Regions from separate parts of the Homo sapiens genome. Here region 1 is linked to region 2. The links are contacts of gene promoters, found by promoter capture Hi-C in human tissues and cell types (Jung and others, 2019). All regions are on one chromosome and are shown on one strand. The core of a region is centred on a gene start or on the middle of the fragment in contact, and the rest is flanking DNA. Distances in the headings are between cores, read along the strand shown. Region 1 has its middle 14 kb from the start of KCNMB3. Region 2 holds the start of MRPL47 (mitochondrial ribosomal protein L47).

What was found. The method cuts DNA at HindIII sites, captures the fragments that hold promoters and counts their contacts. A contact is called where the count stands out against the background at its distance.
Region 1: a contact is called between a fragment that was not itself captured here and the fragment with the promoter of MRPL47 in region 2, in 1 of the 25 tissues and cell types used here (hippocampus).

The regions. Positions count from the first base shown.
Region 1 is chr3:179,261,216-179,268,161 of GRCh38, forward strand. It overlaps a transcript of KCNMB3 not described here and the pseudogene LRRFIP1P1. Among named protein-coding and RNA genes, the nearest start is that of KCNMB3, 14 kb to the left of the region's middle. RefSeq lists a silencer at 1-399 and an enhancer at 1,590-2,091. The HindIII fragment of the contact is 3,811 bases long and covers 1-3,156 here.
Region 2 is chr3:179,600,650-179,606,813 of GRCh38, forward strand. MRPL47 (mitochondrial ribosomal protein L47) reads right to left here and starts at 3,989. Exons shown (of 7, transcript NM_020409.3): 1 at 3,878-3,989; 2 at 2,003-2,148; 3 at 1,081-1,141. The coding sequence starts at 3,975. NDUFB5 (NADH:ubiquinone oxidoreductase subunit B5) reads left to right here and starts at 4,145. Exons shown (of 6, transcript NM_002492.4): 1 at 4,145-4,290. The coding sequence starts at 4,167. RefSeq lists enhancers at 3,279-4,145, 4,071-4,270, 4,146-5,012, 4,451-4,610, 4,641-4,730. The HindIII fragment of the contact is 10,904 bases long and covers 1-5,603 here.

The sequences.
Region 1 (6,946 bases), core at 1-2,500, 340 kb before region 2:
GCGCTTCCGCGCTCAAACAGTAGATCTCCCGGCTCTGCGTGGCCGCGGGGCTGGTCAACCTGCTGGGCTCGGCCCGCTCCACCCGGCGGGAAACGCTCGGGGACCGTGCCGGAGCCCCCCCCCGCGGGCCGGGCCAGGGGGCGCGCGCTCTGTCCGCGGAGACGGAGCCACTCGCCGCGAAGTGAACGCTCGCGCTTCCGGGGCCAAGAGCCAGCCCGCCGGGGAGCGGCTCGCGGGACTGGGCTCGGGCGCAGCCGGCAGGGGCGGGGCGTAGGTGGCCGCGGGCTGAGCCTGGCCGGGGGTGGAATGGCGCGGGGGAAGCGGGGCTCGGGCGCCTCCGCCCGCCCCATGGCCCGCCCCGCCCCACACTTGCAATTTTTTTACATTACTATGGTGTGAAAGCAATATGAATTCAGTAGAAACTGTACCTCAAATTTTGAATTTGCATTATTTCCTGGGCTAGCGATATGCAGTACCCTACTCTCTTGAGATGCTGGGCAGTGGCAGCCAGCCATAGTTCCCAGTCTGCCACACAATCATGAGGGTAAATAGCTAATACTCTGAAGTTTTCAACTTACAGTATTTTCCACTTATGATGGATTTGTCAGGATGTAATCCCACTGTAAATGGAGAACTATCTATATGCATGTTTTTACAAAAGATACATCTAAAACACAGATACAAAAAGGGTGAAATTTATAGGCAAAATGTAACAAAAAGCAAACATGAATGTTAAAAATTAAAAAGCTTTATTAGAAATTTAAAAATAAGTGTTTTAACACTGATTAAAGGCTCAATTCACACGGAAAATGTAACAATGCTAATTTGTAGGTACCTGATAGCATTGTTTCACTGATTAAACTACAAGAAGAAATAGACAAAATCCACTATCAGATTATGATGTATTTTTATACACTCCCCCAGTAATTTAGATAGCTTGACCTGAACAAACCAGTAGGGTAATAGATTTAAGTAAAGCAATTAACAAGTTTTATCTAAATGATAAATATAGAATACTCACTTCTACAGAATATATATTATTCTCAAGCATGTATGGAACATTTATGAAACTGTGTCCGGAATTGGTGGGTTCTTGGTCTCACCGACTTCAAGAATGAAGCCGCGGACCTTCGCAGTGAGTGTTATAGCTCTTAAGGCGGCGCCTCTGGAGTTGTTCATTCCTCCCGATGGGTTCGTGGTCTCCCTGGCTTCAGGAGTGAAGCTGCAGACCTTCGCAGTGAGTGTTACAGCTCATAAAGGCAGCGTGGACCCAAAGAACGAGCAGTACCAAGATTTATTGCAAAGAGCAAAGGAACAAATCCTCCACAGCGTGGAAAGGGACCTGAGCAGGTTGCCACTGCTGGCTGGGGCAGCCTACTTTTATTCTCTTATCTGGCCCCACCCACATCCTGCTGATTGGTCCATTTTACAGAGAGCCGATTGGTCCATTTTACAGAGAGCTAATTGGCCCATTTTGACAGGGTGCTGATTGGTGCGTTTACAATCCCTGAGCTAGACACAAAGGTTCTCCACATCCCCACTAGATTAGCTAGATACAGAGTGTGGACACAAACGTTTTCCAAGTCCCCACCAGAGTAGCTAGATACAGTGTCGATTGGTGCATTCACAAACCCTGAGCTAGATACAGGGTGCTGATTGGTGTGTTTATAAACCTTGAGCTAGATACACAGTACCAATTGGTGTATTTACAATCTCTTAGCTAAACATAAACGTTCTCCAAGTCCCCACCAGACTCAGGAGCCCAGCTGGCTTCACCCAGTGGATCCCGCACCGGGGCCACAGGTGGAGCTGCCTGCCAGTCCTGTGCGTGTGCCCGCACTCCTCAGACCTTGAGTGGTGGATGGGACTGGGTGCCGTGGAGCAGGGGGCAGCGCTCATCAGGGAGGCTCGGGCGGCACAGGAGCCCACGGAGGCGGGGGGAGGCTCAGGTATGGCGGGCTGCAGGTCCCAAGCCCTGCCCCGCGGGGAGGCACCTAAGGCCCTGTGAGAAATTGAGCACAGCAGCTGCTGGCCCAGGTGCTAAGCCCCTCACTGTCCGTGGCTTGTAGGCCGGTCGGCCACTCGGAGTGCTGGCCCGCTGAGTCCACGCCCACCTGGAACTCGGACTGGCCCGCAAGCTCCGCGCACAGCCCGGGTTCCCGCCCGCGCCTCTCCCTCCCCACCTCCCTGCAAGCTGAGGGAGCCGGCTCTAGCCTTGGCCAGCCCAGAAAGGGGCTCCTCAGGCGCGGCCAGAGTGGGCGCCAAGGCCGAGGAGGCGCGGAGAGCGAGCGAGGGCTGCAAGGGCTGCCAGCACGTTGTCACCTCTCAAGACCTGACTACAAACTTAGCCACAAAGAATTCCTCAACAAATGTCAAATGATTCATGAAAGTAATATATTTTTATATGCTCATTGTATGAAACTTGAAAAATACAAAAAAAAATGTACAGAAGAGAACAAAAACTCACCCACAACACTTAAAGGTAATGATTGTGCACTTGGTTTGCTGGGTTAATCCCCTCCTGCTCTATATTAGGTTTTTTGTTTTTTGTTTTTTGTTTCTGTTTTGTTTTTCTTTTTCTTTTCTTTTTTTTTTTTTTTTTTTTTTTGAGATGGAGTCTCACTCTGTCATCCAGGCTGCAGTGCAGTGGCATGATCTCAGCTCACTACAACCTCTGCTTCCCGGGTTCAAGCAATTCTCCTGCCTCAGCCTCCCAAGTAGCTGGGATTATAGGCGCCGGCTACCACGCCCAGCTAATTTTTTTGTTTTTAGTAGAAACGGGTTTTCACCATGTTGGCCAGGCTAGTCTCGAAATCTTGACCTCAGGTGATCCACCTGCCTCGGCCTCCCAAAGTGCTGAGATTATAGGCATAATCCACCGCACCTGGCCTATATTGTTTTAAACAGAATGAGATCACATTAGATATGATTTGAGATTTTTTTGTTAATCTTATCTTTTTCACTTAACATAATAAGCACTTTCCCATGTCATTAACAATTCTTTGTAATCCTATTGGCTACATAATGTTCCATCAATTAGATATGCCATATTTCCTTAACCATTTCCTTATTATTGAATATTATTAGGTTGTTTCCAGTTTTCTCAGACCATAAACAGCCTTGTAATTAACTTTGTTGTATTTACAAGCATCTTTCATCCAAGGACCTCAAAGCACTTAAGTATGATCTAGTTTGCTTTCTAGTCAGGAAGATGGATAAAAAGCATATTGATTCCTTTTTCTGCCAGTAATACATGTCCGCTTCTAACCAGTGTATTACCTTGAGCTGTTTTATTCATAATCAAGGCAATATCCACCACCTTCTATTCTCTTCACTGCAGATAGGACTGACTTTCCCACCCAGCCCAAGTACGACACATGGCTACAGGCAGCTTCTGGCTTAGCCTGAGGCAAACTCAATTACAAACAGCCTGAACACACTCACCTGGGTGTGATCCCCACAGAAGCCAGCAGCCTCTCCCTCCAGCACTGAAACTTTTGCAAGAAGTATTCCTTAGAAACATGCTGTGGCTCATCAAAACTTCATAATTCATCTGACATTCATTTCACGGGTGTATGTGAAATGAATGTCTAAACATGAAGTACACTATATTAATATTTCCCTGTAATTCGTTTTGGTTACAGAGGAGACCCTTGGTAATTATTTTTACTCTTCTATTTTTTAATTACAACATTATTTAACAACTTATTTTGAAACAGCAAATAAGGTTAAGTCAACATAGTTCATCAAGTTCAGCAAGAGGAAATAGCAATAATTCAGTTGTGCATTTCAGAAATGAAAATGGGATACAGTAGTTTGCTTTGATGACAACACAACTGCCTTTATATCTAGTTAATTGTGTGACGTATGGGACACTAAAACTTGTTTGCTTGCATGTTTGTCATTTGATCTTTTGCCATAAAGTAATTCATTTTAATTGTCTGTTCACAAAAAAATTGGTTCATGTCTAGCGAGAAGAACACCTTTCTTTCCTCTGTAGTCTGTCTGGTCCTTCTTCCCTGAACCCCCATCTTATCCAAACTCCTGTATCTCACTCTCCTCATGCTCCCTCTCAAATACCCCTGAGTGCAGTTAAGTGATAATGGAAGTGAGTAACATGATGACCATTACCATCTTTAATGTTTTCCAATTCTCAGCTCCCAACTCCACTAGAGCCAATAATAAATCATGCATATTTCCAGATAGTGAGTGAACCTGGTTCTGAAATGTACCCCTCCCAACAGGTTTTTCTTTGTTTGAGACAGAGTTTGGCTCTTGTCGCCCAGGCTGGAGTGCAATGGCACAATCTCTGCTCACTGCAACCTCCTCCTCCCAGGTTCAAGCAATTCTCCAGCCTCAGCCTCCTGAGTAGCTGGGATTACAGGCGCGCCACCACCATGCCCAGCTAATTTTTGTATTTTTAGTAGAGACGGGGTTTCACCATGTTGGCCAGGCTGCTCTCGAACTCCTGACCTCAGGTGATCCACTCACCTCGGCCTCCCAAAGTGCTGGGATTACAGGTGTGAGCCACCGCGCCTGGCACAAAAGGTTTTAGTATCCCATTTGTCCAACACCCTCAGGCATCACTCTTCTCTCCATTTTGGTTCCCACATTGACTGCCCCATGCCCCAACCCTAGGGCAGGCAAAAGGGGTGCAGGTCACTAGAGGCTTTCAGCTTCTTTGCTTTTCATTTCCCTGGGGAGAAAACGGGTCCTGAAAATAATCTCTCACTTCCCCCTTTAAGGAGAAGAGTAGGGTGGGTAATAACAATAGCTAAAAGGCTAGAGTTTAGGGAGGTGTAGAGCGTATACCCGGTATAACAGTATAGTTTAGAGAGGATGTGGTATACTGTGCTGAGACACGCAGGGGCTCTTACTATCTGCATTTCACAGATAAGGAGATGAGGCAAACAGAGAAGTTAAGTGACTTGCCCAGTCATATGGCTGATTAAGTGGTGAGCTGGGTTTGAATCCAAGGGCTGTGACTCCAGGGCTTCACCAATGGGACCTGCCCAGTCATATGGCTGATTAAGTGGTGAGCTGGGTTTGAATCCAAGGGCTGTGACTCCAGGGCTTCACCAATGGGACCAAATGCTGGTCTAATTTCTTCATTCCTCATTCAACCAACAGATCATTCTTGAGCACCAACTATGGGCTGGGCTATGATCAGTGCTGGGGAGCTACAGGTGAGTTTAAAAGGTCTCCAGTCTCCAAGAACTGGCAACCTAGAGGATAGAGCCAACAGGAAAGGCTGCAGCCCCGTGATGTGAGTGCTACTGGGGAAGCCTGCTGGGTACCCTGGGAGGCATGGCAAGTGGGCATCCTCAGAGAAAAAGGAAACACTCACTCCCCAAGCTCGAGATGTCCCCTCTTCTTGCAACTGCTTGTTCAGCCAGATTCCCACTACCGGCAGAGCTTCCGGAAGTGACTTACCTCCCCTGGCGCCTCCGGCTGCCCTGAAGTGTGATTTGCACGGGGATGCTGAAGGGCTGCATGAGGCCAGGGGTCTGAGAAAATGGCTCCCTTTCACCTGAGTCATGCCCCTGCGGGCGCAAGAAAGGTGAAGCTTAGACATCCACGGAAGTGGAGTCCCAGCGGGAGCCCCCAGCCCCCAGCGCAGCTGCAGCCATTAGAAGCCCCCCGCCTTCCTGGAGAGGTGAGAACTTCAGGCAGGCTAGCCACGTGGTTCTGCAGACTCCTGGCAAGGCGGAGCGGTCAGTTCTAGATGATCAAGAAGGACCTGCGTGGTTTGCTGCAGCCGAAGCTGCTTCTCTCTCTTTGCACTGTGCTTGCCGCCACCTCATCACCTGTGTTTCCGCCTCGGCAGCCGGGAGCATCGCCATAGAGACCTCAACGCTTGTGGAAAGTTCTGAGGCCCAAGGGGACCCTCTATAATTGGTGAGGGACGTACTCAGTTCAAGGTTTATAAGAAGAGGAAATGTTTTGCCCTGGCCGCGTTTCCTTTTCCACGTATTGTCTGTTAGAGTGCAAGCTGAAATAATGGGTTTTCTAGTTAATGGCATGTTCCAATTAAGATAATTCGCTTTTAAACCATATGTGATTTCCCAATTTTTCAAGATACAAAGGGCCATAAAATAACTCGCCATTAAAATTATCTCAAATTTTAAGAAAAGCTGTATCAAATATTATTTTATCTTTCTCTGATGACTTAAAAGACATTTGGGGATCTTTCCACACTCCCAAATTAGGAACATCAATTACCATTATATTATAGTACCACACATTGCTACAGGCACCTGTAGATGTGGATGACAGAATGCCAAAGAGACCATGTTTGCTGTATGTTTTTCAGTCAAGGCGATATTATCTTAACATTTTCCAAGATGGTGTGGGCAAGAATGTAAGCGTAATCTCATCTATAAATATCCATGTACATATAGCTATATAAACTCTTACTTGCAGTCATTTTAATATTGCTTAATAAAAATATATACTTAATAGACTTTTCATTTGTATTATTTTTCTATTTCTATTTTATAAAATATTTGTTTGGGTTTTTTTGAGATGGAGTCTCCCTCTGTCACCCAGGCCGGAGTGCACTGGCTCAATCTTGGCTCACTGCAACCTCCACCTCCCAGGTTCAAGCGATTCTCCTGCCTCAGCCTCCCGAGTAGCTGGGATTACAGGCATGTGCCACCACGACTGGCTAATTTTTGTATTTTTAGTAAAGACAGGGTTTCATCATGTTGACCAGGCTGGTCTCGAATGCCTGACCTCAAGTGATCTGCCCGCCTAGTCTCCCAAAGTGCTGGGATTATAGGTGTAAGCCACTGCACCCAGTCCGAAGTATTTTAGTGAACAGATGCAATTTGGAATAAAAAATAATGATAACAACTGGAATTTCTTCTTTCTGCCTCCTTCTTCCAACTTAACCTTGTATATATGGATAGCTTTTCCTTTTCAGACTTATTTGTGCTAATAAATT
Region 2 (6,164 bases), core at 2,739-5,238:
AAAATAAAAAAAAGCAAATGTCTACTAGAGTCCCTAGGCAGATAACAATTATGAAGGAAGTAGACATAGTGAAAGAACCACAGGGTGGCCGAGAAGTGGTGTGTCCCTGCTCCATCTAGAAGGGGCAGTTGCTCCACACACCAGCCAAGTTGTTGCCATGTAGGAATGCAGGGCCGGTGTTGCCAAATCACAGGTCTCATTATTCAAGAGCCGACAAAAATAATATTTTCTGTGTGAAACTTCCCAATTTAAAAAACAATTACAGTCCAAACAAAACATATCTTTGGGCTACATATAGTACATTAAAAATGCAACCCTGTCTTAAATCCTCTCAACCCTAATTCATCAGAGCCTGCCAGAAAAATCTACCTAAATTCTCAATTAAATGCATCCTCCAACACACCTTTCCAAAGCAAATACACTAAAGATTACAGATCATGAAAATGTAATAAAAAGGAGAGAATTTTAAATATAACCAATGGCTGGGCACAGTGGCTCATGCCTGTAATCCCAGGATGTTGGGAGGCTGAGGTAGGAGGATCACTTGAGCCCCAGTGAGAGCAGCCTGGGTAACATAGGGAGACTCCCTCTCCATAAAACGCAAAAAAATTAGCTGGGTGTGGTGGTGCATACCTGTGGTCCCAGATACTCAGGAGGCTGAGGTGGGGGATCACTTGAGCCCAGGAGGTCAAGGCTGCAGTAAGCCGTTACTGTACCACTGCACTCCAGCCTGGGCAACAGAGCGAGACCTTGTCTCAAAGAAAAAAACAAAAGCCACCAACTATTCTCTGTTTCATTTTATTAATTAACTGAAATTGCTAGTATAAACATGTTAGTAGGACCAATGTAAATTACAGTAAAATTTCTGAATTCCCAACTACTTGAGAATTGTGACATTTGTCATAATCTAACCTCTGTCATATAAAATCTTTCATGATCTTAAACATCAGATTTATCATCCATAGTACTACAAAAGAAATCGCTTTACTCAATTTCTTATATCAGATAGATTGTTTTCACCTCATTGTTACACTATAACGGCTTCAAACGTCTAGATGTTAATGTACTTAGTATACTTACCAAAGTTTGTGTAAATCTTCATTACTTTTGTTCCTTAGTTGCTGACAGGTCCATGCTGCTCCTATTAAAATAATACATAACATGAAATAACATTTCTAGCCATGTGCCCTTTGGCAAATTATTTAAGCTCTCTAAACCTGTCTAAACCTGTTTCTTTATCTGTAAAATATATAACAGCTTTTTTATAGTATATAACAATGTGTAATTAGAGATAAATTAGGTAACATACGAAAATACTATTAACATGACTGGCAATAGCATTCAAAAAATGTTAGCATTAGTACAGAACGTATTTTCACACCCTAATGACAAAATACTTTGTCATTATAAATTAACTGGGGCGGTGGTTCACACCTGTATTCCCAACGCTTTGGGAGGCCAAGACGGCGGGCATCACCTGAGTTTGGGAGTTCAAGACCAGCCTAACCAAGATGGCGAAATCCTGTCTCTACTTAAAATACAAAATTAGCCGGGCGTGGTGGCACGTGCCTGTAATCCCAGCTACTCAGGAGGCTGAGGCAGGAGAATCACTGGAATCCGAGAGGCAGAGGCTGCGGTGAGCTGAGATTGTGCCACTGCACCCCAGTCTGGGCAACAAGAGCAAAACTCCATCTCTAAATAAATAAACAAACTTTAAATTATCATTAAAAAATAAAATCTAAAATAAGCCCTAAACCTTACTTTAGTTAATAATTTCAGCCTATTCCTTATCTAACCATCTTGCCAATCTGCCAAGGAACAATTAACTCTACTATTATATTGTCCCTTTAATTTTCTCTAGTAGACAGTCTCAAAGAAAACTGAAAAAGGAAACATCTAAATAATTCCTAAACTGGATATATAATCCTAGAACGATGGTTGGGCGGGGCGGGGGGGGGGGTTCCATAAATATATCTAATGTTGACAAATCCAAGTATCTCACCAGATTTTACTTTTTCTTGCCCCCAGTTTTTTGGGTCATCAAAAAATTCTTCTAGTCCTTTCCTTGACAATGTGGTATGAAGTAATCTATATTGGTGAAAGGATGTCACATTTGGTGTACTCTTAGGCAACAAACTAAGAAAAAACCTGCAATTGAACACACATAAACAAGTAAAAGTTTTATAATATCTGGATTTTATAAGCAATAAACATTATCATAATAAACATAATCATTTTGTCATCGATAACATTTTAAAAAGCTACTCAGGGTTTCTGCACAAGAATTAATTTTTTTTTCTTATTTAGAGACTGGGTCTCACTATGTTGTCCAGGCTGGTCTCGAACTCCTGGGCTCAAGTGATCCTCCCACCTTGGCCTCCCAAAGTGCTGGAATTACAGGGATGAGCCACCATGCTTGGCCACAATAAATTTTGAAAATGCTTTAGAAAGTATTGTTAATACTGCATTATAGAAGCTGCTACCTTATAATTTCAGAGGTAACATAGTTACACAATTATATTTTAAGGTAACATTTTTGGGTCCTTCTTACATTGCTAATGGGTGCAAGCGCAGGTAAAAAGAGCAGTCAATTTTGCAACATGTGGGCTGGGCACGGTGGCTCACACCTGTTATCCCAGAAATTTGGAAGGCCGAGGTGGGAGGATCACTTTGAGCCCAGGAGCTCAAGACCAGCCTGGGCAAGATGGCAAAACCTCATCTTTAACAAAAATACAAAAATTAGCCAGGCATAGTAGCACGTGCCTTATAGTCCCAACTACTCGGGAGGCTGAGGTGGGAGGACGCTTTGAGCCTGGGAGGCAGAGGTTTCAGTGAGCTGAGATCACACCATTGCACTCCAGCCTGGGCGACAGAGTCAGTCCCTGTCTCAAAAAACAAAAACAAAAAAACCTCACAATTTTGCAACATGTATCAGGAGCCTCAAATACTTCCTCCTTTAATTCAGTAATTCTGCATCTAGAAGTTTCAACTGAAAAAATTATTATAGATGGGAATTTATAAATTAAGATGTTTATTAAAGCACTATATAGGATGTCAAGTTTTTAATTATGTAAATACGCAGCTAAGAATGGTTTAAAAATTACTGTGCATCTGGATGATAAATTATTATGCAGTAATTCAAAAATCCTGTTTTTAAAAAATAGTTAACGACCTGAGATGATTTGAAACTAAATAATGAAGTTTATCACAAGTGTTGTATCCCTACCAAAAATATTTAGCCTAAATCTTATAATGAGGAAACAATCAGACAAATCCAAATGAATAAGATTCTTAAAAAGCTAATCTCATCAAAATGTCAACAACATTAAGAAAAAAAAAAAAAAGAAATTGTTCCGGATAGAGACTAAAGAGTCATGGCAACCAATGTAATAAATGGATACTTCACTGGATCCAGGACCAAGAAAAATAAATAAATAAAAGAAGTTACTAAGTTACCAGTTACTTTCATTGTAACACATCCTGTAAATACAAATATCTCTTCTTTTTTAATCCATCCAAACTTGACACAGACTTGAGTATCACAACAAAAACATCTTCGGTAAAGTTTTTCGCACCTCACCCAGCCCAAGAGGATGCTTCTGTACTTATAGATGTATTTACTTCAACAAATGCTGGACATCTACAAACCCCATATACTGTCTTGTCCACAGCAGGCAGCAACAAAATGAGGAAGGAATAGAAATGTCGGAGGTGAGCGACTTCTCCAAGGTCACTCACTCCTCACCAAAGTGGGCTCCGGCTCTGCCATCCAGGCGGCCGTTCCATTCTTGAGTTGTTCTCGGCATCTCGGCATCTCGGCAACCAAACAAGATCCAAAGTTGGAGAGGTGGGCAAACCTACTTTATACATCACTTACCCTGTGCAGGCAGGGACCTGAGGAGTTATTAACGATCGGGAAGATTTCAGGGCGGATGAAACTCTCCTACAAAGAAGGGCCAAACCGGCCGCAGCCATGTTTTCGCATAACTGGCAAAACGCGTTTCCGCCAACGATAGCGTCACTTCCGGCGTCTCAAGCCGGCGGTGAGGAGAATAGAAAACTTGCCCTCACTTAAGATGGCCACATCCTGCCTTTGTCCTCATTGGTAAATTGGCTCTCTCAGCTTCCGTGACCCGCCTCCCTTCTTCCTCCTGCCCGTAGTAGCCATGGCGGCCATGAGTTTGTTGCGGCGGGTTTCGGTTACTGCGGTGGCAGCTCTGTCTGGCCGGCCCCTTGGCACTCGCCTCGGATTTGGGGGCTTCCTCACTCGTGGCTTTCCGAAGGCTGCTGGTGGGTGCTGGCCTAGGGAGAACGGGCGTGAAGCGGGTGCGGGGCGAGAAAAGGGAGGACGCTTCCAGGGTGACCTTGGTGGGATCCGGAGGGAGCCGGGACAAGTTGTGGGCTTGGGGCTTGACAGGAGAGACGGAGCACGAGCTATATGAGGGGTTTTCCTGAAGTAGCCAGATAGATCGTGTTTACATTATTAGCATTTCTAAAACGTTGTTATTCACCATCCCAATTAATGCTAATTTGCGGATGAAGCTGAGTCTAGAAAGGTATAGAGCTGAGATCTGTATCTCTAGGGCACAAGCTTATTGTTGCGTTCCACCTGCCCAAAGGCTAGGTTCTAGTCCCACAGATGCAAAGTCATCTTGCCGAGAAGCCCACCTATGCTAAGGAATATGAAGACAGGTAATATGTAGACAGGTAAAGAGGCTCAGGGCCAACTTATTCTTTAGGCACAGTAAGTACCGTGCCGCCCAATAATGAGATGCAGATGAACTGGGGAGGAAGAGAGGTTTTTGTTTTGTTTTGTTTTGTTTGTTTGTTTTTTGAGACAGAGTCTCACTCTGTTGCCCAGGCTGGAGTGCAGTGGCGCGATCTTGGCTCACTGCAACCTCCGCCTCCTGGGTTCAAGCGATTCTCCTGCCTGAACCCATGATAGTTTTAGGGGTCTACGAAAGTCTTTTAATTTAAATTTCTTTTTTAAAAAAACCATAATGTTTATGAATATGATAACGAATCCAGCCTGTATTATGTTCGTTTTATACCAATGCAGTCATAAAATATTATTTTTAATAACTTAGACGAAGGGGCCCTTGAAGGCAAAAGTGCCTAGGTCTCAGGAAAGTCATAATACAGTCTTTTTTTTTTTTTCTTTTGAGACAGTCTCACTCTGTCACCCAGGCTGGAGTGCAGTGGCACCATCTTGGCTCACTGCAATCTCCACCCCCCGGGTTCAAGCGATTCTCCCGCCTCAGCCTCCCCAGTAGCTGAGGCTACAGGTGCACACCACCACGCCTGGCTAATTTTTGTATATTTAGTAGAGATGGGGTTTCACCATGTTGGCCAGGCTGGTCTCGAACTCCTCACCTCAAATGATCCGCCCACCTCAGCCTCCCAAAGTGCTGGGATTATAGGCGTAAGCCACTGCACCTGACCAATACAGTCTTAATAGGGCTATTTGGACCTCCTTGGAGACAGTGAGTTGCATCATGGCGGTGTGAATAATCATAGCAAAGATCAAATGCTTGATATTCAGTGTACTTTATTATCTCAGAGACTCTGCAAAGAAATTACAATGTTATTTTCATTTTACAGATGAGGAAACTGACTCAATTATTAAATAATGTGTCACTAAATAATAGCCAACATTTACTGAGCACCTGTTACGTGTCAAGCATCCTTTTTTATTTTTATTTTTTTCAAGACGGAGTCTTGCTCTGTTGCCCAGGCTGGAGTGCAATGGCGTGATCTTGGGTCACTGCAACCTCTGCCTCCTGCGTTCAGGCGATTCTCCTGCCTCAGCCTCTTGAGTAGCTGGGATTACAGTTGCACGCCTCCATGCCCGGCTAATTTTATGTGTTTTTAGTAGAGATGGGGTTTCATCATGTTGGCTAGGCTGGTCTCGAACTCCTGACCTCGTGATCCACCTGCCTTGGCCTCCCAGAGTGCTGAGATCACAGGCGTGAGCCACCCCACCTGACCTCAAGCATCATTTTAAGGGTTTAAAGTATTAATTTATTTAATCCTCTTCATTAGATATATACTGTAAGCTATTTGCCCTGTGCAATAGAAGCAGGTAAAGAGGAAGTGAAACACTTAAAGTCAGAAAGTTGTCTCCAGCCTCAAAATATCTTGTTCTCTTTTTACCCCTATTCTCC